Regions from separate parts of the Homo sapiens genome. Here regions 2, 3, 4, 5, 6 and 7 are each linked to region 1. The links are contacts of gene promoters, found by promoter capture Hi-C in blood cells and fetal thymus (Javierre and others, 2016). All regions are on one chromosome and are shown on one strand. Each heading gives the region's core, a stretch centred on a gene start or on the middle of the fragment in contact. The rest is flanking DNA. Distances are from core to core; before and after follow the strand shown.

Region 1 (3,814 bases), core at 649-3,148:
GGTGGAAAGAGGAGAGGGCCTCTGGGGGAAGGGAGGGCAGGCTGGGATAGAGCTTAAAGAGCTCTGGGTGGAAAGAGGAGAGGGCCTCTGGGGGAAGGGAGGGCAGGCTGCGATGGAGCTTAAAGAGCTCTGGGTGGAAAGAGGAGAGGGCCTCTGCGGGAAGGGAGGGCAGGTTGGGATGGAACTGACATACTTATCTGGTAATTAATATTTAAATAATACCAAAAGTAATACTGAATGCGGCAGATCTAATGGCACATACGAAAATTTTGGCACATACGAAATTTTTGATAGGTACAAATAAATCTAGGCAAATAAATGAAGGCAATAAATAATTCCAGGAAAAACAATTAAGTTGTGCAAGAAATGAAACAAAATCATGATGTACTACTCTGATCAGCAGCCAACAAAATGTATATAGTCACAGCAACGTCAGCAGGACCATGCATCTCAAATGTGGGTATGACCATCTTAGGAAGATGGAGAGGAGCAAGGAAGTAGAAGTAAAGGTAATGGAATAAGAGAATGAGATCATGACCCCAGTAAATCAAGAAACAGCAGCCTGTGCATACTAGTTACAGATAGCGCGGTGATTATCCGAAGAAACATCTAGCTGCGCTGAAAGTGATTGGCTCTGCAACATCAGACTTCATCTTTGGGAGGGTTGGAATAGGAAACTGCTGGTTTTCATTATACATCTTATAGGACTATTTGATTTTTAATTATATACATGCATTACTTAATAGATATAGCAAAAAATGCAGGGAGGTAAAATCCTAGGAACACATGTTTTGAAAAACAGTTCTGGTAGAGTCTGGTTGACAATGCAGCAGAAGCATCTAGAAGCGTATGCTATGGTAAAGACGAGGGGCGGGGTGAGACCTTCAAGTCAAGTGAAACTACCCCACCTGACAAACAACCCTCTCTTCTTCTCATCAGTGTGGGATTATGTTGGATTTTTCTATGCGTTTGTAGGTAATGAAATGAACGTGCTTACTAGAACCCACAAGAAACCACACATAAAAATCCCCAGCAATGTTATATACACAGGTATATTTCTAGCTTTTTGCTGTATTCTTTCACAATTCTGTGCCATTTGCAAGATGTGAAAAGCTAGGACATTATGTATTGATAAAAATGTCTGAGACATGAAAAATATACAGACCAAGAAATATTTTTATTTGAAAAAGATTTAGCCAGACAAAAATAGAAGCTTCCATTATAAAATGTTGAGTCATGCAAAATGGGTAAGGATTGTACTTCGCCCCGGCAGGGGGTACATTTTATAAGCAAAGAATGTCAGAGAGCTAAGGCCACGAGCCAAGGGCCCAAAGACAGTTTTGAAATCCTTTGTCTAGTGCTCTTTCCACATCACCACATTAATTCCTGGGGTGGACAGGGACCTTGACAATTTAAGCATAAAAGAACAAACTGACCACAAGGTCGTTTTTATAAAGATCAACCATCAACCCCTGGGGTCAAGTTTCCAATCTTTGCTCAAGCTTTAGAAGCCTTTCAGCTTTGTGGCGTTATCAGGAAAGTCCAAAAATTGAAATTTGTGGTGACTAATTCCACCCCCTACAAATACTCAATGCAGAGCATATTACTGTCAGCTCAGCTAAAAACTGCTCAAAGTAGAAGTGATTAAATTCTAAAGTAGAAAAAAATTCACCTCCAAACACAGAAACACACTGGTACCTCCCCCGCACACCCAGATATTATTAGCCAGCTTTTTGCCTGGGGAAATGAATCATGAGACAGAAAACTGTACAACCCCCAAGTCTGACCACACTGAGTAACTGGGGTAGACACAGAGGGGGGCATCTGGGGCTCTCCCGAGGCCAAGGTTGGGACCCAGAAGAGATGAATTTCCCTGGGTGCACAGGGTGGGAGGGAGGTGGGGCTGGAAGAACTTGATCTGGAGGGATGATCCCGAAGGCTCCCAGTGAAGAAGGCCAGGAAGAGCAGAGGATGGTGCCAGGAGGATGATGTCGGGGGACACAGGCAGCTCATGCCTGGATCAGGCAGTGACTGGTAACAGAAGGAGAGTCCATGCTGGTGGGCCCAGGGGAACATAGGTGGTCAAGCAGGGCAGTACTTGGTGTCTGGGGATGCAGTGTGCGACCTCCTGTATTCGGTGCGAGGCACATGGGGCCAGCAGGAGCTGGTGTGAGCCCGGGTCTGAAGGGTGGTGGGATCTTAGTGGGGAAGACTGGGAAGACAGCAGGGAGGAAGAACTCAGGCTGGAGGAGGATGGGGGCCTGGGAGGATCCCTGCCACACTGTTAGGAAGCCAGGGAGCTTGGGTGGTGGTAGGATGGGAAGAGGGCAGGGAAACGGGGGGAGGGTGACACAGGCCCTCCGGCAGCAGCGGCTTGGCCACTGGCGCTGAGATTGGTATGAGTGACTCAGTGCCAGGTTGCGCCACAGAAAGCTGAGGCTGCGGATCCTTCTCCTGCCTCTGGTAGGGCCGTCTTAAAGGCAGGGTGAGTGAGCCTGGCTCCAAGAGGCTGGGTCCGCAGGCAGGGGCTGACGTGGGCTGGCCCAAGCCCCAGCTCTCCTCACTCTGAGTGCTTCTATGCTTTCTCACCTCCACGCTTCCAATCATGTTATTTTCCTCTTATTAAAATGCCTCCTTCCACGTCCACTTGGCAAACTCCTACGCACCCTTTAAGGCCGGGCACAAATGTCTCCACAGGGTTATGCGCCCCAGCCCTGTTAGTGACGGCCTTCCAGCTAGACAAGATTTTCATCTTTATACTGCCCTTCCCCAGGAAAGGGACATCACAGACACTCAGCTATTTATTTGCTGGAGGTGTTTGTTGAATTTTTCTGGTAGTTTCAGATTACACCTATTTAAATATTAGTTTTCAGAGAAGAGAAATATTTTTGTAAAGTTATTCCTAGAACATCAATGTCTGTGAAGGAAGTTCTATTTTCCTGTTAATCTTTCATAATAAAATTGGAAATGCTTTCTCCTGGAGGAGAGATGATCCCAACGCAAGAACAAATCAGTAAGCAAGAGTAAAACATGTTTTCCAATAAAACAAAGAGTAATAGTTGAAATAGGCCAAACGCACATATATTATGCTGCAATTTAAGCTTTCATAAAGTAAATTAAACAAGCCTAGAGGCTGAATTCTTGTGAATTGGTGATGTTTCTGTAAACTGAATGATGTTATCAGCCTGTGGTTATACAGTTCCCCTCAGAAAAATGTTCACTAAAAAAAATCACAAGTGTTTAGAAGTTAAAGGGGTTTACATTATGTGTTCATTTTTAATGAACTATTTGCCCAGTAGCTACAGCTGAACCAGTTATATGCCTTCAGCTTAGACTTTTTTTTTTTTTTTTTTGAGATGAGTCTTGCTCTGTGGCCCAGGCTAGAGTGCAATGGCTCGATCTCAGCTCACTGCAACCTCCACCTTCCGGGTTCAGGCAATTCTCCTGCCTCAGCCTCCTGAGTAGCTGGGATTACAGGCATGTGTTGCCATGCCTGGCTAATTTTTGTATTTTTAGTAGAGATGGGGTTTCACCATGTTGGCCAGGCTGGTCTCGAACTCCTGACCTTGTGATCCACCTGCCTTGGCTTAACAAAATGTTGAGATTACAGGCATGAGCCAGCATGCCCAGCCCAGCTTAGATTTTTAGACACTATCTTAAAGACCTTGCACTGCTATTCCCTACGTCCCCGCAACCCCCACTGGAAAGACGTCAGGTGTTGTCAAACAGATCTATTCTCAAAATTATTTTTTTCTGTGTGTATTGCCTCGTACTGGCTTAAGATAACACACTGGCTTAAGATAACACATCTTGT
Region 2 (3,814 bases), core at 826-3,325, 500 kb before region 1:
AGTCATCCATGAGGGTTGGAATCTACTTCTTCTTAACTTCTGTTAATGTTGATATTTTGACCTCCTCCCACAAATCACGAATGTTCTTAATGACATCTAGAATGGTGAATCTTTTTCAGAAGGTTTTCAATGTACTTGCCCATATCCATCAGAGGAATCACCATCTATGGCAGCTATAGCCTCACAAAATGTATTTTTTTTTAATTTTTATTTTTAGAGATGGGGCCTCACTACGTTGCTCAAGTGATCCTTCTACCTCAGCCTCCTGAGTAGCTGGGACTACAGGTGCATGCCACATGTCAGGCTGTATTTCTTAAATAGTAATACTTGAAAGTTGAAATTACTCTTCGATCCATGGCTGCAGAATGACTGTTATGTTAGCAGGCATGAAAACAGTATTTTTTTTTTTTTGAGACAGATTCTCACTCTGTCACCCAGGTTGAGTACAGTGGTGCAGTCTCACCTCACTGCAACCTCTGCCTCCTGGGTTCAAACAGTTCTCTTGCCTCAGCCTTCTGAGTAGCTGGGATTACAGGTGTGCACCACTACGCCCGGCTGATTTTTTGTATTTATAGTAGAAATGGGGTTTCACCATGTTGACTGTGTTGGCCAGGCTGGTCTTGAACTGGCCTCAAGTGATCCACCTGCCTCAGCCTCCCAAAGTGCTGGGTTTACAGGTGTCAGTCACTGTGCACAGCTGAAAACAATATTAATTTCCTTGTACATCATATCCATCAGAGCTCCTGGGTGACCTGGAGTATTGTCAATGAGCAGTAATATTTTAAAAGGATTTCTTATTAAAAGAGCAGTCATATTTAAAAGGATCTTTGTTCTGAGCGGCAGGTCTCAACAGTGATCTTAAAATATTTGATAAACCCTGCTGTAAACAGATGTGCTGTCATCCAAGCTTTGTTGTTCCATTTCTAGAGCACAGGCAGAATAGATTTAGCATCATTCTTTTTTTTTTTTTGAGATGGAGTCTTGCTCTGTCGCCCAGGCTGGAGTGCAGTGGCGCAATCTCTGCTCACTGCAAGCTCCACCTCCAGATTCACGCCATTCTCCTGCCTCAGCCTCCCAAGTAGCTGGGACTACAGGCGCCTGCCACCACGCCCGGCTAATTTTTTGTATTTTTAGTAGAGACGGGGTTTCACCGTGTTAGCCAGGATGGTCTTGATCTCCTGACCTCGTGATCCACCCGCCTCGGCCTCCCAAAGTGCTGGGATTACAGGCGTGAGCCACCGCGCCCGGCCGATTTAGCATCATTCTTAACGGCCTTGGGATTTTTGGTATAGTCAGTGAGCATTGGTTTCAACTTAAAGTCACCAGCTGGATTAGCATGTAACAGAAGAGTCAGCTTGTCTTTGAAGCTTTGAAGCTAGGCATTGACTTTTCCTCTCTAGCTGTGAAAGTCCTAAGTGGCATCTTCCAATATAAGGCTGTTTCGTCTTCATGGAAAATTTGTTATTTCATGAAGTCATCTTCATCAGTGATCTTAGCTAGATCTTCCAGATAACTTGATGCATGCTGCAGCTTCTTTTTTTTTTTTTTTTGAGACAGATTCTCACTCTGTTGCCCAGGCTGGAGTGCAGTGGCATGATCTCAGCTCACTGCAACCTTCGCCTCCTGGGTTCAAGCAATTCTCCTGCCTCAGCCTCCTGAGTAGCTGGGATTACAGGCACACGCCACCATGCCTGGCTAACTTTTGTATTTTTAGTGGAGACAGGGTTTCACCATGTTGGTCAGGCTGGTCTTGAACTCCTGAGCTTGTGATCTGCCTGCCTCGGCCTCCTAAAGTGCTGGGATTACATAGGCGTGAGCCACTGCACCTGGCCACTTGCTGTAGCTTCTGTGTCAGCACTTGCTGCTTCACCTTGCACTTTTAAATTATGGAGACAGCTTCTTTCCTTAAATTTTTCTTTTCTTTTTTTTTTTTTTTTGAGATGGAGTAATTCACTGCGCCTGGCCTCTTTCCTTAAACTTCATGAATTAACCTCTGCTAGCTTCAGACTTTCTTTTGCAGCTACCTTCCCTCTCTCAGCCTTTATAGAATTGAATAAAGTTAGGGCTTGTTTGGAATTAGGCTTTGGCTTAAGGGATCGTTGTGGCTGGTTTGACCTATGTAGATTACTAAAACCTTCTTCATATCAGCAGTAAGCCTGTTTCATTTTATCATTCATGTGTTCACTGGAATAGCACTTCTAATTTTCTTTAAGAACTTTTCCTTTGCATTTACAACTCAGCTATTGTTTGGTACTAGAGGCCTAGCTTTCCGCTTATCTTGGCTTTCAACGTGCCTTTCTCACTATGCTTAATCATTTTTAGCTTTTGATTTAAAGTAAGAGATGTGCCATTCTTCCTTTTACTTGAACACTTAAGAGTCTCTTGTAGGGTTAATTGGCCTCATTTCAGTATTGTGTCTCGGGGAATAGGGAGCACTGAGAGGGAGAAAGATGGGAATGGCTGGTTGGTGGAGTAGTCAGAACACATACAACATTTATGGATTAAGTTCACCATCTTATATGGGCACAGTTTGTGGTGCCCCAAAACAATTGCGGTAGTAAGATCAAAGATTATAGATGGTAATAACAGATACAATAGTAATGAAAAAGTTTGAAATCTTGTGAGAATCACCAAAATGTGAGCCAGAAACATGAAGTGAGCCTATGCTGTTGGGAAAATGGCACCAATAGACTTACTCAATACACGGTTGCCAGAAATCCTTAATTGTAAAAAATGCAGTATCTGCAAAGTGCAATAAAATGAGGTATGCCAGTATAAGCTTTGTACTTTTTACTTAGTTTTGGTAACAAGTGTCTAAGAATTGGTGCAGTAAATGTGGACTCTTAACTTTCATGTATTTTTTTGTCAGTCTGTAACTGATTTCAGTTTGAGTTATGTATTATTTTTATGGTATTTATTATGTGTCCTTCTTTATAGTTTCTTATCACCACAGGAGAAAATCTAGATTATCTTGATGGTGTCCATACGGTGTTTGGTGAGGTGACAGAAGGCATGGACATAATTAAGAAAATTAATGAGACCTTTGTTGACAAGGACTTTGTACCATATCAGGATATCAGGTATGGTTACAATTTGCTATCTGAATGTACTAGAATGTTTTAATATTGAGATGTTTAACACGTAGTGGTATGGATAGGAACGGTATGCATAGGACTGGTTTCTGGATAATTCTAATCCCAAAAGGTGAATTAATATAAGACTGTAAGAATCTTTATAATAAAAAGGACTTTTTGTATTTTTATACTTGTACTAATTATTTATAATTATGTTTGGAGGAATTATTTATTTATTTATTTTTTGAGACGGAGTCTCATGCTGTTGCCCAGGCTGGAGTGCAGTGGCGCGATCTTGGCTCACTGCAAGCTCTGTCTCCCGGGTTCACACCATTCTCCTGCCTTAGCCTCCCAAGTAGCTAGGACTACAGGCGCCCGCCACCACACCTGGCTAATTTTTTGTATTTTTAGTAGAGACGGGGTTTCACCATGTTAGCCAGGATGGTCACGATCTCCTGACCTCATGATCCACCCACCTCAGCCTCCTGAAGTGTTGGGATTACAGGAATGAGCCACTGCACCCAGCTGGAGGAATTGTTAATGCTTTAATTTAGTTTTTTAATTGAGAAGTAGGGCAAAAGTACTAAGATTTAGACAGTTATATTAGTTTACATCTTAAAGTAATGCAGGGTGATAAATATGGTATCACTCAATGCAAAACAGTAACACTCATTGTGAAAGTATATCTAGGTTAGTAATATCCATATGCAATATGGGTTTTTTTTGGCCTTAGAGATAAT
Region 3 (3,814 bases), core at 666-3,165, 490 kb before region 1:
GCTATACTGTTGCACTGATCTATTTGTCTATTCATATACCACTGTTACATTGTGTTAATCACTATAGGTTTATAAATGTCTTGATAACTGTGAGTCTTCCAACTTTGTTGTTTTTGAAGATTGTCATAGCTGTTTTTGACTTTTGAATATTTATTTTTGAATCAGTTTCTCAATTTTGAAGAGATTTATTAACTATTATTTAGGTGTAAGTAAATTGAGTATTTGCAAATACTATCCTCCTGAAAAAGTGATCTTCAGAGCTTTCTCTTTGGGGATATAGCATGGTGATAGAATTATACCTGCCTGAAAATAATCAGTCAGATTCATGAAACGTACACTGATTGCCTACGTTTTAGATACCATGCCATATGATGTTCTAAATGATGTAGTTACAAAGACGAATCAAGCTTTGTCTATATCTTCATGGATTTTATAATTCATTTAATTATTGACATGTAATAAATATGATTATAACTATTTTATCTGCTTCTCTTTGGATTATCTCTAGTAAGAATAAGTTTCCAGGAATGTAAAAGAAAATTGGTCAGTACTGAGTTGAAATATGTAACTGTCAGTGTCAGAAACAGGGATTTAGAATTGTGAAGTTACTGACAGGAAGGATTCTTGTGTAGCACAGAGCTTGGTATTACAGTCTCACAGTTCATTATCTAAAACCCTTGAGAATAACTAGGCTTCCTAATTCAGAATTTTTCAGAATTCAGAAAGGTAATACTGTATATATGCATACACACATACACATTACATCTGTGATTATGTAATACCTTTCTGGGTCAGCATTCCATAATCTGTCACAAAAGTATTTCTGCAGTGAAACAAATGAATATTCATACTAAGTGGATAAAAAAAGGTCATAACCTACCATTAGGTTTGGTGTTACTGCCAAATTAATTTTAACAACAAACTTAGGAACACAACTTTCACTTTCCAGGATGTTTTTGAATTTTGAGTAAAAAGGATTGTGAACCTGTATAATACAGTCAGTAAGTGTATATTTATCTGTTCACTGCAGTTGGACTGTCTCTCTAAAATCCTGGCTCTGACCCTTGCCAACAACTTCTATACTTCTCTAAACTTCTGTTTTCTCATTAAGAAAATGGATAGTACCTCATGGGGTTGTTACCAGAGGTATTTGAGGTAATAGATACAAAGCATTTAACAGCATCGGGTGTGTAATAAGTATTCAAACATTAATTTTTGTAACAACAAACTTTTTGTATTTTCAGTATTCTAGCTACAGAAATCTTTTCCATAAAGATTTATGCTTGAGTTTTTATAATTATTATCAGGAAGAAGATTGTGAGAAAGCATTCTTCAAAATGGACAATGTGCTTATAGATGACAGAAGAATACATGTGGATTTTAGCCAGTCGGTTGCAAAGGTTAAATGGAAAGGAAAAGGTATGATGGTTTATCTTTTGTTTTTGTTCTGCTTTTTTTTTTTTTTTGAGATGGAGTCTCGCTCTGTTGCCCAGGCTGGAGTGCAGTGGCACGATCTTGGTTCACTGCAACCTGTGTCTCCCAGGTTCAAGCCATTCTCATGCCTCAGCCTCCCAAGCAGCTGGGATTACAAGCATGTGCCACCATGCCCAGCTAATTTTTGTATTTTTAGTAGAGATGGGGTTTCACCACGTTGGCCAGGCTGGTCTCGAACTCCTGACCTCAGGTAATCCACCGCCTTGGCCTCTCAAAGTGCTGGGATTACAGGCGTGAGCCACTGCGCCCGGCCTTGTTTTTGTTATGCTTTTCATGCTTGTATGAGCCTTTTATTGAGTGCTGTTAATTAGGAGAAATATTAATTGATGTAACTCCTGCCATTTGTAATTTTACAAACCTGCTATCTAGAATCTGAGGTAGAGTGTGTGTGTGTGTGTGTGTGCACACACATGCATGTGTGCACCTGTGCGTGTATTTTAAACTGATGAAAAATTATATTTTCTATGTTTGACTATATTATAAATTACTAATAATTACCCACTGCAGACATGATATGTTTCCAAAGTAATTATTTTGACTTTATGGTGTTTTGAGTCTTTTAGGTGCACAACTTAAATTTTTTTTGTTTGTTTTAGTTGTCATATGATGCAAAATAGAAAAGGTCCATGGAAAGGTAGATAAAAGTCTCATTCATTCCTGCTCCTCATCTATCTAATTTCTCTTCCAGGGTAACCATTATCACCTATTGGTACTAACTTTCCCCTACATTTTTTGAATACATATGTGCATATATATATATATGATTTTCTCCTTTTAAAAAGGAAAATATAAAACAAAGGATGCAGGCTATACATACTGTTTTTGTACCTTGCATTTTTTAATTAACAGTGTATCTAAGAGATCAGTTCATATCAGTATATAAAATGAACCAGCCCTGTTAATGGGTTTTCTAAATTTTTACTCTTCCATGTCCATAGCAGTATGTTCCACCTTTGTACATATTACATTTCCCACATACACATACATATATGTCAAATACATTGCTCGTAGCATGTCAGTCTTAAAAGTTGGGTCTCTCATATGTTGAAATAATACGAGTTTTTGGTTTTTGATGCAGTGTTTTTAACAGGTTTCACTTTGATAGTTACTCACATGTAATGCTAAATTTTACTGGGAATTTCAGGGTTACTTTCTTTTTCTATAACACTTATTTCCCATGCTTTTAATGAACTGTTTTTTTTGTCTGTTTTTAGTAAGAAAGAAAAACACTATTTAGTTGTGAATTGCTGAATTGTTTGGTGGATTCTGTTACCTTATGGGAGTTCAGAGAAGGAAGAAATTATTAATGTGACTAAAGTAGGCAAGGAATGTTGAGTGGAAGCTGTGATCTCTGTGATAAAGGAGAGGGTGACTTGGATTGGAGTTCCATGTACTATTAGTTTCTCCTGTGAAACCTTACCTCCTCCTAGAACACATGGCTAGTTTTTGACAGTGCTGTTTGAGTGATTTGTGAAACCTAAATTGAAGCACTAAGATTTTTTTCCACATATGAAAATTACAACTTTGTGAATGAAAGATTCCAGTAAGTATATTCAAAGTGTTGGTGAGCTGCTGGCCTGATGCAGTGTAGTTCTGGCCAGTAGTAATGCCAGGTGGCTCTTATGTAGAGCTCTGCTTCCAAAGAGCTAGTTTAATTGTATCATTTGGGAAGTGTATGAAATAAATATTATAATTCCTCATTATAGATATGGAATTTGAGGCATAATCTTGAGAAGTGATTTACCTAGAGTCACATACACAGATGATTTAGACAGACCCTACATTTGGTTTGTTTTTTACCCTCTCAATCCTGTCTTCTTCTCAACCCATCCACCCATTGAATAAATACTACTACTTTCTTGTGACTTTTAAATAAATTTCTTCATGTTTTTTCCTAAGATAAAATGTCACATAGGAGGGAGAAGCTTTGGTTTTGTATATGCCATCATAAACATACAGTTTATTATTCTCAGTTAATTTTGAGATAATTATATATGTTATTGATTCACATTTATAAACTTAATGTGTATAATGTGCCATTCACAGCACTAAGAACTTTCCTTTATAGTCTGATGATTCCAGCAACTCTGTGAAATGTTGGTATTATTTTCAGTTTATAAATGAAGATAATGTAAATAAAGATAATGAATTGCAGAGAAGTGGTGTCTTACCTAGGACCTCCCACTACAGTCAAGAACCTCTTACATTAATCTGGTGCCCTTTCTGTTATACGGTAACTGCTTCATCCATAGTGAGACTTTTAATGGCAGGCAGATGGCAAATAATTTTTCAATGATAAATGATGGCTGTTTGTTACCAT
Region 4 (3,814 bases), core at 805-3,304, 470 kb before region 1:
CCAGGAAAGCAGATGCTTAGATTTTGTGTCAAAGCTTGTTATTTTTTTCATACTAGGATTATGGTCTTTAGATTAATACTGATTATATAGAGCACGGAAAGATAAAGAATTGAACATTTTCTTTGTATACTTTTTTACACTAATTTTATTGTTATACATAAATGGTAGTCTTCATTTTTGAAGTCTTACATTTTCACTCTTTTTTTAATGAAGTATTTCATACTACAAAAATACATAAACGTATATATAAAGGGATAATAAATGTAAATATCTGTGTACTCATCAGCCAGCTTAAGATACAGATGTTGTCGACATTTTAGAAGTTCCCTAAGGCCCTCTCCCTCTCAAATAATTATTTGGAATTTTGTGTTTGTCATTTGTCTATTATAGTTTTACAACATACGTATGTATCTGTAAGTGAAATGTTAATTTTGTATGTTTCTGAATTTTATATAAATGGCAAAATGTTTACTTCTGTGACTTTCTTTCATTTTTATTGCTATATAGTATTATATAAATATACTACAACTTATTCATTCTTGATGGACATTTGAGTTTTGTTTATTTGTTTTTGCTGTTGAAACAATGCTGCTGTGAACATTGTATCTAGCAGTTATATTGCTTGATATATTGATAAAATAATGCCAAATTTGTGTTCTGAAGTGACTGTACTAGTTTATACCTCTCTTGGCACTGTGAGTTACCTTTGTTTCATAGCATCTCCAACACTTAAGTTCAGACTTAAAAATTTGCCAACCTAGTGGATGTTAAGTGGTATCTACCTGTGATTTCCAGCAAGATTACTGTTATCTCTGCTCTTCCATGTGTAAGATGTCATTTTTTTCCTGGCTGCTTTTAAGGTTTTCTGTCACTGGTTGTAAGAAGTTTGATTATGATGTGCTTGCTGTAGTTTTTTTTTCACGTTTCTGCTGCTGCAGCTATTTTACCTGTGGGTTTATGGTTTTCATAGAATTTGGAAATTGGGGGGCATTTTTTCTTCTGTTATGGTTTTCTCTCTGCTCCTCTCATGCTTCTCCTGGGGCTCTGATGACTTGGATGTACGTTAGGCCCCTCAGAATTTTCTCCCAGTGTGCTGATTCTGTGCAGCTTTTTAAAAAGCCTTTTTCTCTCTGTGTTTCATGTTGGGTACTTTCCAGTGCTGTGTCCTCATTGTTTATTAATCTTTCTGTCTAAAGTATCTAATTTCCTTTTAATCGTATCCAGGTATTTTTCACCTCCGACATATTTTTAGTCTTTAGAATTTCTGTCTGGGTCTTTATCTCCCATGTGTCTCCTTCACATGCTCATGCCTTCCTCTATTTTTTTTTTTTTCAACATCTGGAGTGTATTGATAATAGCTCTTTCAGTGTGCTTGCCCATTCTGTCATCTGCATCATTTCTGGTCTGTTTCTATTGATTGATTCCCACCCTACCCCAACCCCCACCCTGCCCATATTGGATTGTAACTTCCTTCATTACATGCCTGGTAATTTCTGTTTTTAATATTGGGTGCTGGAGTTCTTTTAAGTATCTTGAACTCTGTTTGGGGACATAAAGTTACTTGGAAACAATCCGATCATTTTATAGCTTGCTTTTAAGCTTAATAAGACAGGACTGGGACAGCCTTTAGTTTAGGGCTAATTTGACCCACTACGAAGGTAATACCGTTCTGAATAATCTTCCTGGTTACACGGTTTCTGCATTCTGTCTGTTGGGAACATGAAATATTCTGAACCCTATTGAGCTCCCAGTTGTATCTCCTGTTCCTTACCTCACATGCATACACTGCTTGGTGTTTAGCTGAAGACTTAAGGGAAACCCAATATTCTGCCCTGCAAATCTTACCTTGGCTCCCCTAAATTCTCTACCCAGGGAGGTTCCCTTCCCTAGCCTTAGTGCCACAGCTTAGAAACCCCATGTAGAAGCTTGCGCAATTATAGGGCTTTCTTTGTTTTCCATCTCTCAGGAGTCACTGTCCTGCACTGGCTTTTGTCTAACATCTGAAAAACTTCCTTGTATACATTTTATATAGGTTTTAATTTAAGGTGGAGAAGGTAAATCGTGCCTCTGCTACTCCATTTTGACTAGAGTGGAAGTTAACTTTGTATTTCCTAAATGTTAATGAGGCTGAGCATCTTTTCCCATGTTTATTATTCATTCCTTATTGCTCTCTGAAAAGCTTGTTTCATGTCTTTTGCCCATTTATATAGTAGTAGATTGTTGTCTTTTTATACTTAATAGATTGTGGATACTAAGAATAAGTTAAGGAGTGCTGTCTCTCTCTCCTTCCCTCTGTCTGTTCTCTTGGAAGAAAAGAAAAACATTTAAATTAATCTGTTCCTTAAAAGCTGGATAGAGCTTGCCTATAAAATTGTCTGAACTTTGCATTTTTTTGTGAGAAAATTTCTTAACTATTGATTAGGTTTCAAAAATTATAGAATTATTAGCCTTTCTATTTCTTTAATGTTAGTCATTTTTATTACATTTTTCTGGGAATTTGTTTTCATTGACGTTTTTATTTTTTGATAGCATTGCGCATAGTTTAGCTAGATTTTTCTATCCTGCTTTGTTGATGAATGTCCTTATGTTTTAGTGTGTCTCATAAACAGCATATAGCTAGATGATGATGATGATGATTATTATTACTATTTTGAGACGGAGTCTCACTCTGTCACCCAGGCTGGAGTGCAGTGGCGCAATCTCAGCTTACTGCAACCTCCACCTCCTGGGTTCAAGCGATTCTACTGCCTCAGCCTCCTGAGTAGCTGGGACTACAGGTGCTTGCCACCAGGCCTGGCTAATTTTTTTTTCTTTTTTTTAGTAACAGGGTTTTCACCATATTGGCCAGGCTGGTCTGGAACTCCTGACCTTCTGATCTGCCCACCTCAGCCTCCCAAAGTGCTGGGGTTACAGGTATGAGCCACTGCACCCGGCCAATTATTTTTAAATCTAATCTGAACTTTAACTGGTTAGTTGAGTGCATTTTTATGTGTACTGATGTATTTGCATTTATTCCTTACCACCTTATTTTGTGCTTTTTATGTTTTTTTCTTCCACTCTTTTTTTTTCTTTTGGAATCAAAAATGTTTTTTAATTCCACCCTCACCCCTCTGCCCCCTCTTCTTTGTTTTGGGGGAATTTCCTTGGAATATTACATCCGTACTTAAAAAGTATAATGTTATATCTTTATCTTCCTCTCTAATTGAGAGTCTTGGAACTCTCCAAGTCACCCCTCTTGCAACTTTCGTGTTAAAATCATTCAGTATTTTAGTTATAGCTTGTGATTTTTCACCTTAAAATTAGACCTTGAGCTGGACTCAGTGGTGCACACCTGTAGTTCTGGCTCCTGAATGGCTGAGGCCGGAGGATCCCTTGAGGCCAGGAGTTAGAGGCTGCAGTGCACTGCGATTGTGCCTGTGACTAGCCTCTGTACTCCAGCCTGGGCAACATAGTGAGACACCATCTGTTAGAAAAAAAATTAGACCTTGTGATTATTACTGTTTTTGTACAGATAATTGTTGGTTTAGATTTACTTTATATGTTAGAAGTGTTTGTTTATTCATTATTATTCTCACATCTCAGACCTTTCACCTAGGATAATTTTCCTTCTTTCTGAAGCACATCTTTTGATGTTCCTCTAGTGACATCTGTTGATGGCAAACTCTTAGTTTACATTTATCAAAAGTATTTTCAATTCATTCTATAAAGTTGATTTTATATGTACATAATTCTAAGTTGAGGTGTGTCTTTTTTTCCCCCAGTACTTTGAAGAATTAGTCTACTATCTTTTTACTTTTGTTACTACTGGGGAGAA
Region 5 (3,814 bases), core at 620-3,119, 440 kb after region 1:
CCCGCTAAGGTGAATCAGGCTTATTTGGACCTTTCTGTTGGGCCTACATGGGTTTTCTAAAGGCCACAAATCCAGGCATCAATAGGCCTGGCCACAATACAAGCAGCTGAGAGCCAATACTATCCACCACTTCTCTGCATGCCTCTGCAAGTTTGTAACTGTGCAGATGCACGAGTAACAGTTAAGGTCACCTAGTCATTCATTCAGCGTGGATTCATGGAGCATCGATGTGCCAAGCACTGTTCCAGAACCTGCAGCTATGGTAGTGAACGCAGTAGACCCAGTTTCTGCTCCATGTCTGTGAAGGGGATGGGAGATAGGCAATTGTCGATATTTGTCCATACTCTATGTGGGATGGAGGTAAGAGCCATAAATACAAAGAAAGGCTCATGTTGACTTTTTATTATTTGTGCAAATTTATGGGGTACATGTGAAATTTTGTTACATGTATATAATGTATAGTGATCAAATTAGGGTGTCCATCTCCTGGGTGCAATACATTTTTGTTTAACTATAGTCACCCTATTCTGCTATCAAACATTGAATTTATTCCTCCTACGTAACTGTATGTTGGCAGGGCACAATTTTAGAGAGGGATCGGTGATGCTGTTTTAGACACGGCAAGCAAGGAAGGCCTTTTTGAGGAGGAAGTTGATGAAGAATGGAGCTCCGTGGCTCTCTGGGAGGAAGGTCACAGGAACAGATGTGCAAAGGCTCAGACAGTGGAAAATACTTCACATGCTCGAGGAACCCCAGACAAGAGTGACTGGAGCAGCAAGGGTCAGGAGGAGACGGAGAGGATATGAGGTCAGAGACCATGGTTAAGACTTAAAATTTCATCCCAGTGGGAGTGAAAGTCCCCTAAGGGTTTCAGCAGCCACGTGGCCTCCTCTGAATGCAAGGGAAATGGAGCCACTCCTGCCCAGTCAGAGTTAACTGGAGTTTTATGTATGGCTTACACTTGTACCGCTAAGTAGAGGTACAGAGGGAAAATTTGGGCGATAATTTAACTTTTGACTGGATGAAGGCACGGGGGTGTCAGAACGGCTCATTTTTTTCCCTAGATAATTTAGTTTCACAACCATGCCTTGTAACTGGCTGAGGGCCTTATCTGTCAGAAACTTAGCCATCCGGCTCTACAAATGAAATCTCATGAGCTCTCACTCCTCATCTGGAGCCTGGACCCCTCAATGGGGCCCCAGGCAGCAGGGCAACAGCATCATGTCAGCATCATGTCAGCGTCCTGCCACCCCTCTCCATGCAGCAGAAGCAGACGGGAGAAAGGGCGGCGACTCCTGTAGAGAGGGGGCTTAACCCGTGAGCGTGAGAGGCAGTGGTGGAAGTCATTTGCTAAGTCAGAAGAGGCCCAAACATAGGGAAAAGGTCGTGTGAGTATAATTTCAACTTCCACTTCCATTTCACGGCCACATGCCACTTCTCGTAGTCATAACAATGTTAAAACTGGAACAAAATAATCGTTTAGGGAACTTCAAGTCCTATAAATGATCAAACTGTGCTGAGCAGTGCTAGGATTCCACAGAGGTGACTCAGGGACACTCTGGAGAATGTCACTGGATGTGAGGAGAAGCCCGTGGGTGGACAGAGGGTCTCCTCCCTTCCAAGCCCTACCCTCTGCTTCCATCTATGCTGGATTGGCTATTTATCTAAGATTTTGCTTCAAGGAAGAGTTTTGGCGCCAAAAAGTAAACAACAACAACAATAACAACCAAAAAAAACAGATTCTGAGATTAATTAGGACTAACTATGTGCCAGGCACTCCACTGAATTTTTTTTTACAAACATTATCTCATTAATCCTCCAATAGCCCTATGAAGTAGATATTATAGTCCTATTAATGAGAAAATTAAGACTTAGTGGAGTTAAGTAAATTTTTCATGTCTCACAGTACTGCAAAGCCAAGATTTGAACCCAGGCCAACTCATCTGACACCTCAACCTCAACTCCTAACTTTTATGCCATCCTGAAAAAAGAAAACCTATCAACCAAGGTTATTCTCATTACCATTCAAGGAAATGTCTTAAAATGTTTAGAATAGCCATTGTGTTCATCTGCTTGGGCTGCCAGAACAAAGTATCACAGACTGCATGTCTTAAACAACAGAAATTTATTTTCTCACAGTTGTAGAGGCTAAGAAGTCCAAGATCAAGGTGCTGGCAGATTTCGTGTCTGGTGAGGACTCCCCTCCTGGATTGCAGATGGCACCTTCTCACAGTGTCCTTTCATGACCTTCCTTGGTGCACACGTGTGCAGAGAGAGAATGCTGATATATTTTCCTCTTCTTAAAAGAGCACCAGGCCAGGCGTGGTGGCTCACGCCTGTAATCCCAGCACTTTGGGAGGCCAATGCGGGAGGATCAAGAGGTCAGGAGATGGAGACCATCCTGGCTAACATGGTGAAACCCTGTCTCTACAAAAAATATAAAAAATTAGCCGGGTGTGGTGGCACGTGCCTGTAGTCCCAGCTACTCGGGAGTCTGAGGCAGGAGAATCACTTGAGCCTGGGAGGCAGAGGTTGCAGTGAGCTGAGATCGCACCATTGCACTCCAGCCTGGGCAACAGAGCGAGACTCCATCTCAAAAAAAAAATTTAAAAAAAGGTACCAGACCTATCAGATTAGGGACCCATATGTGTGACCTCAGTTAATTTTATTACCTTCTCATAGTTGCTATCTCCAAGTATTGTCACATTGAGGATTAAGATTTCAACATAAGAATTTTGAGGATACACAAATATTCAGTCCTTAACAGCCATAAAGGCTAATATAATACTGACACTTATAGAGCTTTCACTATTTAATATATCCTTATGTAGTGCTTACTCTAAGCAGAGCCCTATTCTAAGTGTGAAAATATTGACTCATTTAGTACTTCCAATAGCCCCAGGAGGTAGTTGCTATCAATATTTTCAGATAAGGAAAAGACTGAGGCACAGAAAAAATGATTAATTTGTTCCCTAGTGGTGAGCAGTGATGTAAACCTGTCAAATACTTCACACACACACACACACAAAAAGTTTAATCATCCCTCAGCCTCCCTGGGGGATTGGTTCCACAACTCTGCAGATACCAAAATCCCTGGATGCTCAAGTCCCTGATACAAAATGGCATAGTATTTGCATATAACCTGTGCACATCCTTCTGTATACTTTAAATCATCTCTAGATTACTTATAATACTTAACACAGGCCAGGTGCAATGGCTCACACCTGTAATCCTAACACATTGGGAGGCTGAGGTGGGAAGATGGCCTGAGCCCCAGAGTTTGAGATGGCAGTAAGCTATGATTGTGCTACTGCACTCCAGCCTGGGCAACATAGTGAGACCCCAACTCTAAAAAAAATTTAAATACCTAATATAATGTAAATGTTGTGTAAATAGTTGTTACTGTATATTGTTTCCTATTTGTATTATTTTTTGTTGTTATATTGTTATTTTTGTTGTTGTTGTTTCAAATATTTTCAAGTCAGCATTGGTTGGATCCAAGGATGTGGAGCCCACAGATTTGGAGGGCTGACTATAACTGAGGGATCAGGCTCCTTTCCCACCCATGGCTCCACCTTCTTCAATGGATGCTTCCCATGTCACCATGGAAGGGAAAATAACGTGAGAGGTTCTATGCGTCAGCTCTGGCTTCCTCTCACATTCCATTGGCTAGAACTCAGTCATGTGACCACACCTACCCGTGAGAGAGGCTGGGAAATGCAATCCAGTTGTGCGTCCATGACAAAAAGGAAAACGTTAGGTGAAAAACTCGCAATATCTTCTACTATAAAGACACAATAAGTAATATAAAATA
Region 6 (3,814 bases), core at 951-3,450, 410 kb before region 1:
GAGCTCACCTTCTGGTTCAAAACAAAGCTCGGGTTCATTGTGCACATTCCTTCTACCCTGTTTCTGAATCACCCCGGGATGCTCACAACAGCCTTTGGGATGTGCGCCATTAATTCCATCTCATAGAAGAGAAAACTGAGGTGCTGGAAGCAACTTGCCAAAGGTCGGTTTTGTATTATCTTTATGGTTACTTAGGCTAAAAAGAATTCGGTGTAAAGAGTAGTATGAATGCATTTATAAATAACTCTAGGGGCTGGGTGTGGTGGCTCACGTCGGTAATCTCAACACTTTGGGAGGTAGAGGCGGACAGATCACCTGAGGTCAGGAGTTCGAGACCAGCCTGACCAACATGGAGAAACCCTGTCTCTACTAAAAATGCAAAATTAGCCGGGTGTGGTGGCACATGCCTGTAATCCCAGCTACTTGGGAGGCTGAGGCAGGAGAATCTGTTGAATCTGGGAGGCGGAGGTTGCAGTGAGCCAAGATTGTGCCGTTGCACTTCCCCCTGGGCAACAGGAGCAAAACTCCGTCTCAAAAAAAAAAAAAAAAAAATCTCTAATCTGCATGAAAGATTGGTTGGTTAGCATTTGAAGGCCCCTAATAGGGGTTTCTCTCTCCAGAGGAGGGACCTTAGGAGCCTAATAATTGTTACAGAAATAGATGCTAGAATCTTGTTAATGAGCAGAAACGACATGAGAAATAATTTTTCATTGTTGAAAAGGGGGATGTTCAAAATATGTGCTTAGCTGGCGCAGGCCTCAGACCTACACACAAACCTGTGAAGGTCTGCCAGTAGTGCTTTGGTCTCTTTCTTTTGCTGGCAGAATGAACTGAGGCTGGGCTAGATGGGGGAAAAGCAAGGGGTTGGTGGACTGGGATTCCAGGCTGCTTTTCAGCTTCTGAGCTGCCTCTTCCCACTGACCTCAGCAAAACAAGATATAATTAACCCCAAATCCCACCCCCACCCAGCTTGAATCAGGAAGAGATAGAAATCTTGAACAGACCAGTAAAAAGCAGTGACATTGAATGAGTAATAAAAAATCTCCCAACATTAAAAAGCCCAGGACCCAGTGAAATCACAGCCGAATCCTACTAGACATTCCAAGAAGAATTGCTACCAATCCTACAGAAACAATTCCAAAAGATCAAGGAGGAAACCCTCCCTAACTCATTCGATGAAGCCAATATCACCCTGATAACAAAGCCAGGAAAGAACATAACAAACAAACAAACAAAACTACAGACACTATCTTTGATGAACACAGATACAAGAATCCTCAACAAAGTTCTAGAAAAGTGAATCCAACAGCACATCAAAAAGATAATTTACCATGATCAAGTGGGTTCCATCCCAGGGCCCTGGGATAGTTCAACATATGCAAGTCAATAAGTGTGATTCACCACATAAACAGAATGAAAAACAAAACCATATGATGATTATCTCAACAGATGCAGAAAAAGTATTCCATAAAATTCAGCATCACTTTATGATAAAAACCCTCAACAAACTGGGCACAGAAGGAACATAGCTCAAAATAATAAATGCCACATACAACAAACCCACAGCCAACATCATTCTGAATGGGGAAAAGTTGAAAACATTCCCCCAAAGAACTGGAACAAGACCTGGATGCCCACGTTCACTACTTCTATTCAACACAGTACTGAAAGTCCTAGCCAGAGAAATCTGGCAAGAGAAAGAAATAAAGGGCCTCCAGATTGTAAAAGAGGAAGTCAAACTATCTCTGTTTGCCATGATATGACCTTATACCTAGAAAACCCCAAAGACTCATCCAAAAGACACCTAGATTTGATAAACGAATTCAGTAGAGTCTCAGGTTATAAAACCAATGCACACAAATGAGTGGCACTGCTATACACCAGCAATGAACAAGTTGAGAGTCAAATCAAGAACTCCACTCGTTTTATAATAGCTACCAAAAAGGCCGGGCACGGTGGCTCATGCTTGTAATCCCAGCACTTTGGGAGGCTGAGGCAGGTGGATCACCTGAGGTCAGGAGTTCGAGACCAGCATGAACAACATGGAGAAACCACATTCTACTAAAAACACAAAATTAGCTGGGCATGGTGGCACATACCTGTAATCCCAGCTACTGCAGAGGCTGAGGCAGGAGAATCCCTTGAACCAGGGAGGCAGAGGTTGCAGTGAGCCAAGGTTGTGCCATTGCACTCCAGCCTGGGGCAAGAAGAGCAAAACTATGTCTCAAAAAAACAAAACAAAAACAAAAACAAAAACAAAAACAAAACAAAACAAAACCTAGGAATATACTTAACCAAGGAGATGAAAGTTCTCTACAAAGAGACCTATGAAAGAAAGTAGATGAAAGAAATCATAGATGACATAACCAAATGGAAAAACGTCCCATGCTCATGGGTTAGAAGAATCAATATTGTGAAAATGATCATACTGCCCAAAGCAATCTCTAGATTCAGTGCAATTCCTATCAAAATACCAAGGTCATTTTCCACAGAATTAGAAAAGCCCTCAACCTAAAATTCACACGGAACCAAAAAGAGCCCATATAGCCAAAGCAATCCTAAGCAAAAAGAACAAATCTGGAACAAAAGAGCAATCCTAAGCAAAAAGAACAAATCACTACCCAAGTTCAAATTATATATTACAAGACTATAGTTGCTAAAACAGCATGGTACTGATACAGAAATAGACACATAGACCAATGCAACAGAATAGAGAACCCAGAAATAAAGCCAAATACTTACATCCAACTAATCTTCAAAAAGCACACAAAAACACAAACTGGGGAAAGGATATTCTATTCAGTAAATGCTGCTGGGAAAATTGGATTGCTGCCTTTAGAAGAATGAAACTGGATCCCCATCTCTCACTGTATACAGAAATCAACTCAAGATAGATACAATACTTAAATCTAAGACCTGCAACCATAAAAATTCTAGAAGAAAACCTAGGAAAAAGTCTTCTGGACAGGCCTAGGCAAAGAATTTATGACTAAGACCCCAAAAGCAAATGCAGCAACAACAACAACAAAAATAAATGGGACCTAATTAAACTAAAAAGCTGCACAACAAAAGAAATTATCAACAGAGTAAACAGACAACCTACAGAATGGGAGAAAATATTTGCAAACTATGCCTCTGATAAAGCACTAATATCCAGAATCTACAAGGAACTAAAATAAATCCGCAAGAAAACAACCCAAATAATCACATTACAAAAGTAGGCAAATGGCATGAACAGACATTTCTCAAAAAAGATCTGCAAATGACCAACAAATGTATGAAAAAATGTTCAATGTCACTAATCATCAGGGAAATGCAAATTAAAACCACAATGTAATACCACTTTACCCCAGCCAGAATAGCCATTACCAAAAAGTCAAAAAACGATAGATGTTGGCACTAATGTGGTAGAAAAAGAATGCCCACATCCTGCTGGTGGGAATGTAAATTAACACAACCTCTAAGGAAAGCAGTATAGAGATTTCTCAAATAACTAAAAGAAGATCTACCATTCAATCCAGCAATTCCACTCCTGCGTATCTACCGAAAGGAAATTCAGTCATTAAATACTAATAAAAAGAAGACATCTGCACGCGTATGTTTATTGCAGCACAATTTACAATTGCAGACATATGGAGTCAACCTGAGTGCCCATCAACTGATGAGTGGATAAAAAAATGTGGTGTCTGGCCGGAAGTGGTAGCTCAGCGGTGGCTCACACCTGTAATCCCAGCACTTTGGGAGGCCGAGGTGGGTGGATCACTTGTAGAGGCCTTGTAGAGGCCAGGAGTTCAAGACCAGCCTGGGCAACATG
Region 7 (3,814 bases), core at 735-3,234, 390 kb before region 1:
ACGCAGGGTTAGGTTCCCACGAGCTTCTGCCCACGATATTTTCACCAGCCCATCAATACATGGCCTAGTTTTACGTGTTTCTGTTTCAAGACACTTTATTCATGAACACTGAACTCATAACCAACAGGGCTACAGCTCGCGCATGAACAAAGCTCTCTGACACATGTATTTTCTCGCTAAGGCCCATCCTGGCATTCTTGGGCTTAGAACACTCGACAGCATTTCCGCACAATGTTGAGGGCATTTTAAATGGCAAAATCACCAATACAAATGCAAAAAACATATCCCTAAATAGACTGCAGAAAGGACACTTGGTTCACAGTACAGGAGCTGACACAAGAGGCAGACCATTGTGTAGCTTGACCTGAGATGGGAATATGACCATTGGGTGACTCAAGTTTGTCACTGTTCTACCCATATCTGCAAAGGACTATGAAAGTGCCATGACCATTTTTAGTGAATAGGGAAATTCACAAACGAATCCACAGATAATGATTGACTGTACTTGCATGCTTATTTCTCCTTTATAAGCTCTAAGGTGGTGACTGTCTCTCGTGTCATCAAACACACTGCCTGACCTATGGCAGGAATGTGATACTGAAAAGCATTTGGGGAAAATCATAGAAAAATTAAGCTAGACCCTGTCATCAAATTCATAACGTAACAAAATTTGTTGCCCACCTACTATGTGCCAGACCTAAGCTGGAAGCAGGGTATAAAGCAGTGAAGAAAATGAGAGAATGTGGCTAAGATTAGGAAGACTAGCAAAAGGAGGAAGTAGCAAATTCAAAATGTGAAATTTTTGAAATATAAAGATGATTGTGCAGATTGAGAACTGAGAAATTACTATTGCTACCTTAGCACAAACTGGAATCAAAAGGACAAAATGACAGTTGGCCTAAGGTTTTCAGTGAGTACTACTTATTCTTTACTCGTTTCCAAATTTGGGAGCCCCTTGTTTCTTGTAATGTGAAGCCAGTAGTTACCTGTTAACTGTTAGCATATTAATAATAAACAGAGGCCAGGCGCAGTGGCTCATGCCTGTAATCCCAGCACTTTGGGAGGCCGAGGTGGGCGGATCACTTAAGGTCACGTGTTCAAGATCAGTCTGGCCAACATGGTGAAACCCCGTCTCTACTAAAATACAAAAATTAGCTGGGCATGATGGCAGGTGCCTGTAATCCTAGCTACTCAAGAGGCTGAGACAGGAGAATCGCTTGAACCCAGAAGACAGTGGTTGCAGTGGGCCGAGATCGCGCCACTGCACTCCAGTCTGGGTGGCTGAGCTAGACTCTGTCTCAAAACAAAAACAAAACAAAACATAATAAACAGTAGAAAAGAAAGAGATTATGGTTAATAAAGAGAGCAATACAGGTGGAAGTTTAAAAATCTTTGCTGTGTGTTTTTGTCATTCGATATTGAATATAATCATGCTTTGAGATACTTCATAACAAAAATCACCTATTATCATTCACTGGAATGGAAACTGCATATATTGCTTCTCATTCATTACCTTAGCAGAGCTTGGTTGTCTGGGTTAGCAAATTGGTGTTCTAAGATGTGTATGCTGTTTTATTACAAAAAGAATTTGGCAGTTCAGCAAAAGGGCACGTGAAAGACTTGTGTTAAAAACCAAAAGGTAGTAGTTAAGACTTCAATTCAGATTAATAAAATGTGGGCTTGTTTCATGTCACTCACTCTCAGGCAATGTGTTGGCTATCAGACCCAGTGGAGTTTAACCAGTGAGAGTCCCTGCTCTCTGCTGCTCATCGTTTAGTCAGAAGCCTGTCTCTTCACCTTTCTTGGGAAAGAATAAGACAGGATTTTTACATACTTTGCATTTAATTTTCTTCTTTCTTTCCTCTTCTCTTGACCAGTGTTCTCCAGAAAAATATTCTCCCATGTCCCTCTGCTTCAATTTTGAAGAAAAACAAAAAAGGACATTCATTATGTCTAAGAAGAAGCCACTCAAACACTTTGGTCCATGAAAAAGCAAACTTTAAAATTTGAAGTAAAGTTAGATGTAACAGAGGCCTCAGGTTGAAATGCCAATTTCTGAATTTTCCAGAATATCCACAAAGATCTCTACTTCTTCATCCCCCTCTGGCACCACACAGAAGATACCAGAAACATTATTTTTGGGTTTCATTGTTACATTTATCTATCCCAATAGTATGATTGTGCCTTATTTCAGTTTTCCAAATGCAAAGCGTTCCAGCTAATTAGTGGGCTGGCCTGGGAACCTACTGCTTCTAATACTAGTTCTAGGGGAAAATACATACTACATTCAAAATGGCTGTACCCACTGGTTAACTTGAATAAATGTTAGAAATTAACTTGGCCTTCATGTTAAGAGTCGTTATCATCAAGTCTGGGTGCGGTGGGGCACGTTTGTAGTCCCAGCTACTTGGGAGGCTGAGGTGGGAGAATAGCTTGAGCCTAGAAGTCCAGGATGGGCAAAACAGTGATACCCTATCTTAAATAAAAAAAGAATCATCATCAACTACTGACCTTTTGCCATGTATGAAGTTATTTGCTATGGGGACACAAAGACACACCTGTCCTGACAGTCATACCTTGGAGATATTGCAGGTTTGGTTCCAGACCACCATAATAAGGTGGGTATCACAATACAGTCAGTCACATGAATTTTTTGGTTTCCCAGTGCACATAAAATTGTTTACACTATTCTGCAGCCTATTAAGTGTGCAATAGCATTATGTCTAAAAACAAAATGTACATTCCTTAATTAAAAATACTTTATTGCTAAGAAATGTTAACAATCATCTGAGCCTTCAGCAAGTCATAATCTTCTTGCTGGTGGAGGGTCTTGATGGCCGCTGATTGATCAGGGTGATGGCTGCTGACCGATCAGGGTGGTGGCTGCTGAAGGATGGGGTGACTGGGGCAATTTCTTAAAATAAGACAACAATGAAGCTGGCTGCATCGACTGACTCTTTCTTTCATGAAAGATTTCTCTGTAGAATGTGATGCTGTTTGGTAGCATTTTACCCACAGTAACGTGGAGTCAATCCTCTCAAACCCTGTGGCTGCTTATCAACTAAGTTTATGTAATATCCTAAATCCTTTGTTGTCATTTCAATAGCGTTCACAGCATCTTCGTCAGGAGGAGATTCCATCTCAAGATACCACTTTTTCTCGTCCATAAACAGCAACTCTTTATTTGTTCAACTTTGATCATGAGAGTGCAATTCAGTCCCATCTTCATGCTCCACTGTTAATTCTAGTTCTCTTGCTATTTCCACACCTGCGGTGACTTCCTCCACTGAAGTCTTGAACCCCTCAAAGTCATCCACGAGGGTTGAAATCAACTGCTTTCAAACTCCTATTAGTGTTGATATTTTGACCTCCTCCCATGAATCATGAATGTTCTTAATGTCATCTAAAATGGTGAATTCTTCCCAGGTTTTCAGTTTACTCTACCCAGATCCATTAGAGGAATCACTATCAATGGCAGCTATAGCCTTATGAAATGTATTTCTTAAGTGATAAAGACTTCAAAGTCTAAATTATTCCTTCATCCACAGGCTGCAAAATGGATATATTAGCAGGCATGAAAACAGAAATCTCCTTATACAACTCCCTCAGAGCTCTTGGGTGACCAAGTGCATTGTCAATGAACAGTAATATTTTGAAAGAAATCTTTTTTTTTTTTTTTTTTTTTTCTGAGCAGTAAGTCTCAACAGTCAGCTTAAAATATTCAGTAAACCAAGCTATAAACAGATGTGCTGCCATCCAGGCTCTGTTGTTCCATTTCTAGAGCACAGACAGCGTATATTTAGCATAACTCTTA

The links. Contacts are between HindIII fragments. The CHiCAGO score rates a contact against its expected background, and 5 or more counts as called.
Region 2: a contact is called between a fragment that was not itself captured here and the fragment with the promoter of UST-AS2 in region 1, in 16 of 17 cell types (naive CD4 T cells, activated CD4 T cells, total CD4 T cells and 13 more). The highest score is 19.6, in naive CD4 T cells.
Region 3: a contact is called between a fragment that was not itself captured here and the fragment with the promoter of UST-AS2 in region 1, in 17 of 17 cell types (activated CD4 T cells, megakaryocytes, total CD4 T cells and 14 more). The highest score is 59.5, in activated CD4 T cells.
Region 4: a fragment that was not itself captured here is called in contact with the fragment with the promoter of UST-AS2 in region 1 in 17 of 17 cell types (megakaryocytes, endothelial precursors, erythroblasts and 14 more); the score reaches 23.9 in megakaryocytes.
Region 5: a contact is called between a fragment that was not itself captured here and the fragment with the promoter of UST-AS2 in region 1, in 2 of 17 cell types (naive B cells and M1 macrophages). The highest score is 5.7, in naive B cells.
Region 6: a contact is called between a fragment that was not itself captured here and the fragment with the promoter of UST-AS2 in region 1, in 17 of 17 cell types (naive CD4 T cells, total CD8 T cells, M0 macrophages and 14 more). The highest score is 59.1, in naive CD4 T cells.
Region 7: a fragment that was not itself captured here is called in contact with the fragment with the promoter of UST-AS2 in region 1 in 17 of 17 cell types (naive CD8 T cells, activated CD4 T cells, naive CD4 T cells and 14 more); the score reaches 44.2 in naive CD8 T cells.

The regions. Positions count from the first base shown.
Region 1 is chr6:149,030,745-149,034,558 of GRCh38, reverse strand. UST-AS2 (UST antisense RNA 2) reads left to right here and starts at 1,898. Exons shown (of 2, transcript NR_134599.1): 1 at 1,898-2,034. All of the region lies in intron 7 of UST (uronyl 2-sulfotransferase), which reads right to left. RefSeq lists an enhancer at 1,305-1,494. The HindIII fragment of the contact is 1,599 bases long and covers 1,505-3,103 here.
Region 2 is chr6:149,534,862-149,538,675 of GRCh38, reverse strand. It overlaps PPIL4 (peptidylprolyl isomerase like 4), which reads left to right. Exons shown (of 13, transcript NM_139126.4): 5 at 2,938-3,080. Among named protein-coding and RNA genes, the nearest start is that of PPIL4, 9.3 kb to the left of the region's middle. The HindIII fragment of the contact is 1,412 bases long and covers 1,370-2,781 here.
Region 3 is chr6:149,518,665-149,522,478 of GRCh38, reverse strand. PPIL4 (peptidylprolyl isomerase like 4) reads left to right here. Exons shown (of 13, transcript NM_139126.4): 10 at 1,308-1,419. Among named protein-coding and RNA genes, the nearest start is that of PPIL4, 25 kb to the left of the region's middle. The HindIII fragment of the contact is 3,012 bases long and covers 410-3,421 here.
Region 4 is chr6:149,501,581-149,505,394 of GRCh38, reverse strand. PPIL4 (peptidylprolyl isomerase like 4) reads left to right here. Exons shown (of 13, transcript NM_139126.4): 13 at 1-900. Among named protein-coding and RNA genes, the nearest start is that of ZC3H12D, 18 kb to the right of the region's middle. The HindIII fragment of the contact is 254 bases long and covers 1,928-2,181 here.
Region 5 is chr6:148,590,936-148,594,749 of GRCh38, reverse strand. No RefSeq gene overlaps it. Among named protein-coding and RNA genes, the nearest start is that of UST, 150 kb to the left of the region's middle. The HindIII fragment of the contact is 5,455 bases long and covers 1-3,814 here.
Region 6 is chr6:149,436,983-149,440,796 of GRCh38, reverse strand. No RefSeq gene overlaps it. Among named protein-coding and RNA genes, the nearest start is that of SUMO4, 39 kb to the right of the region's middle. RefSeq lists an enhancer at 1-157. The HindIII fragment of the contact is 9,116 bases long and covers 1-3,814 here.
Region 7 is chr6:149,416,524-149,420,337 of GRCh38, reverse strand. No RefSeq gene overlaps it. Among named protein-coding and RNA genes, the nearest start is that of SUMO4, 18 kb to the right of the region's middle. The HindIII fragment of the contact is 4,936 bases long and covers 1-3,814 here.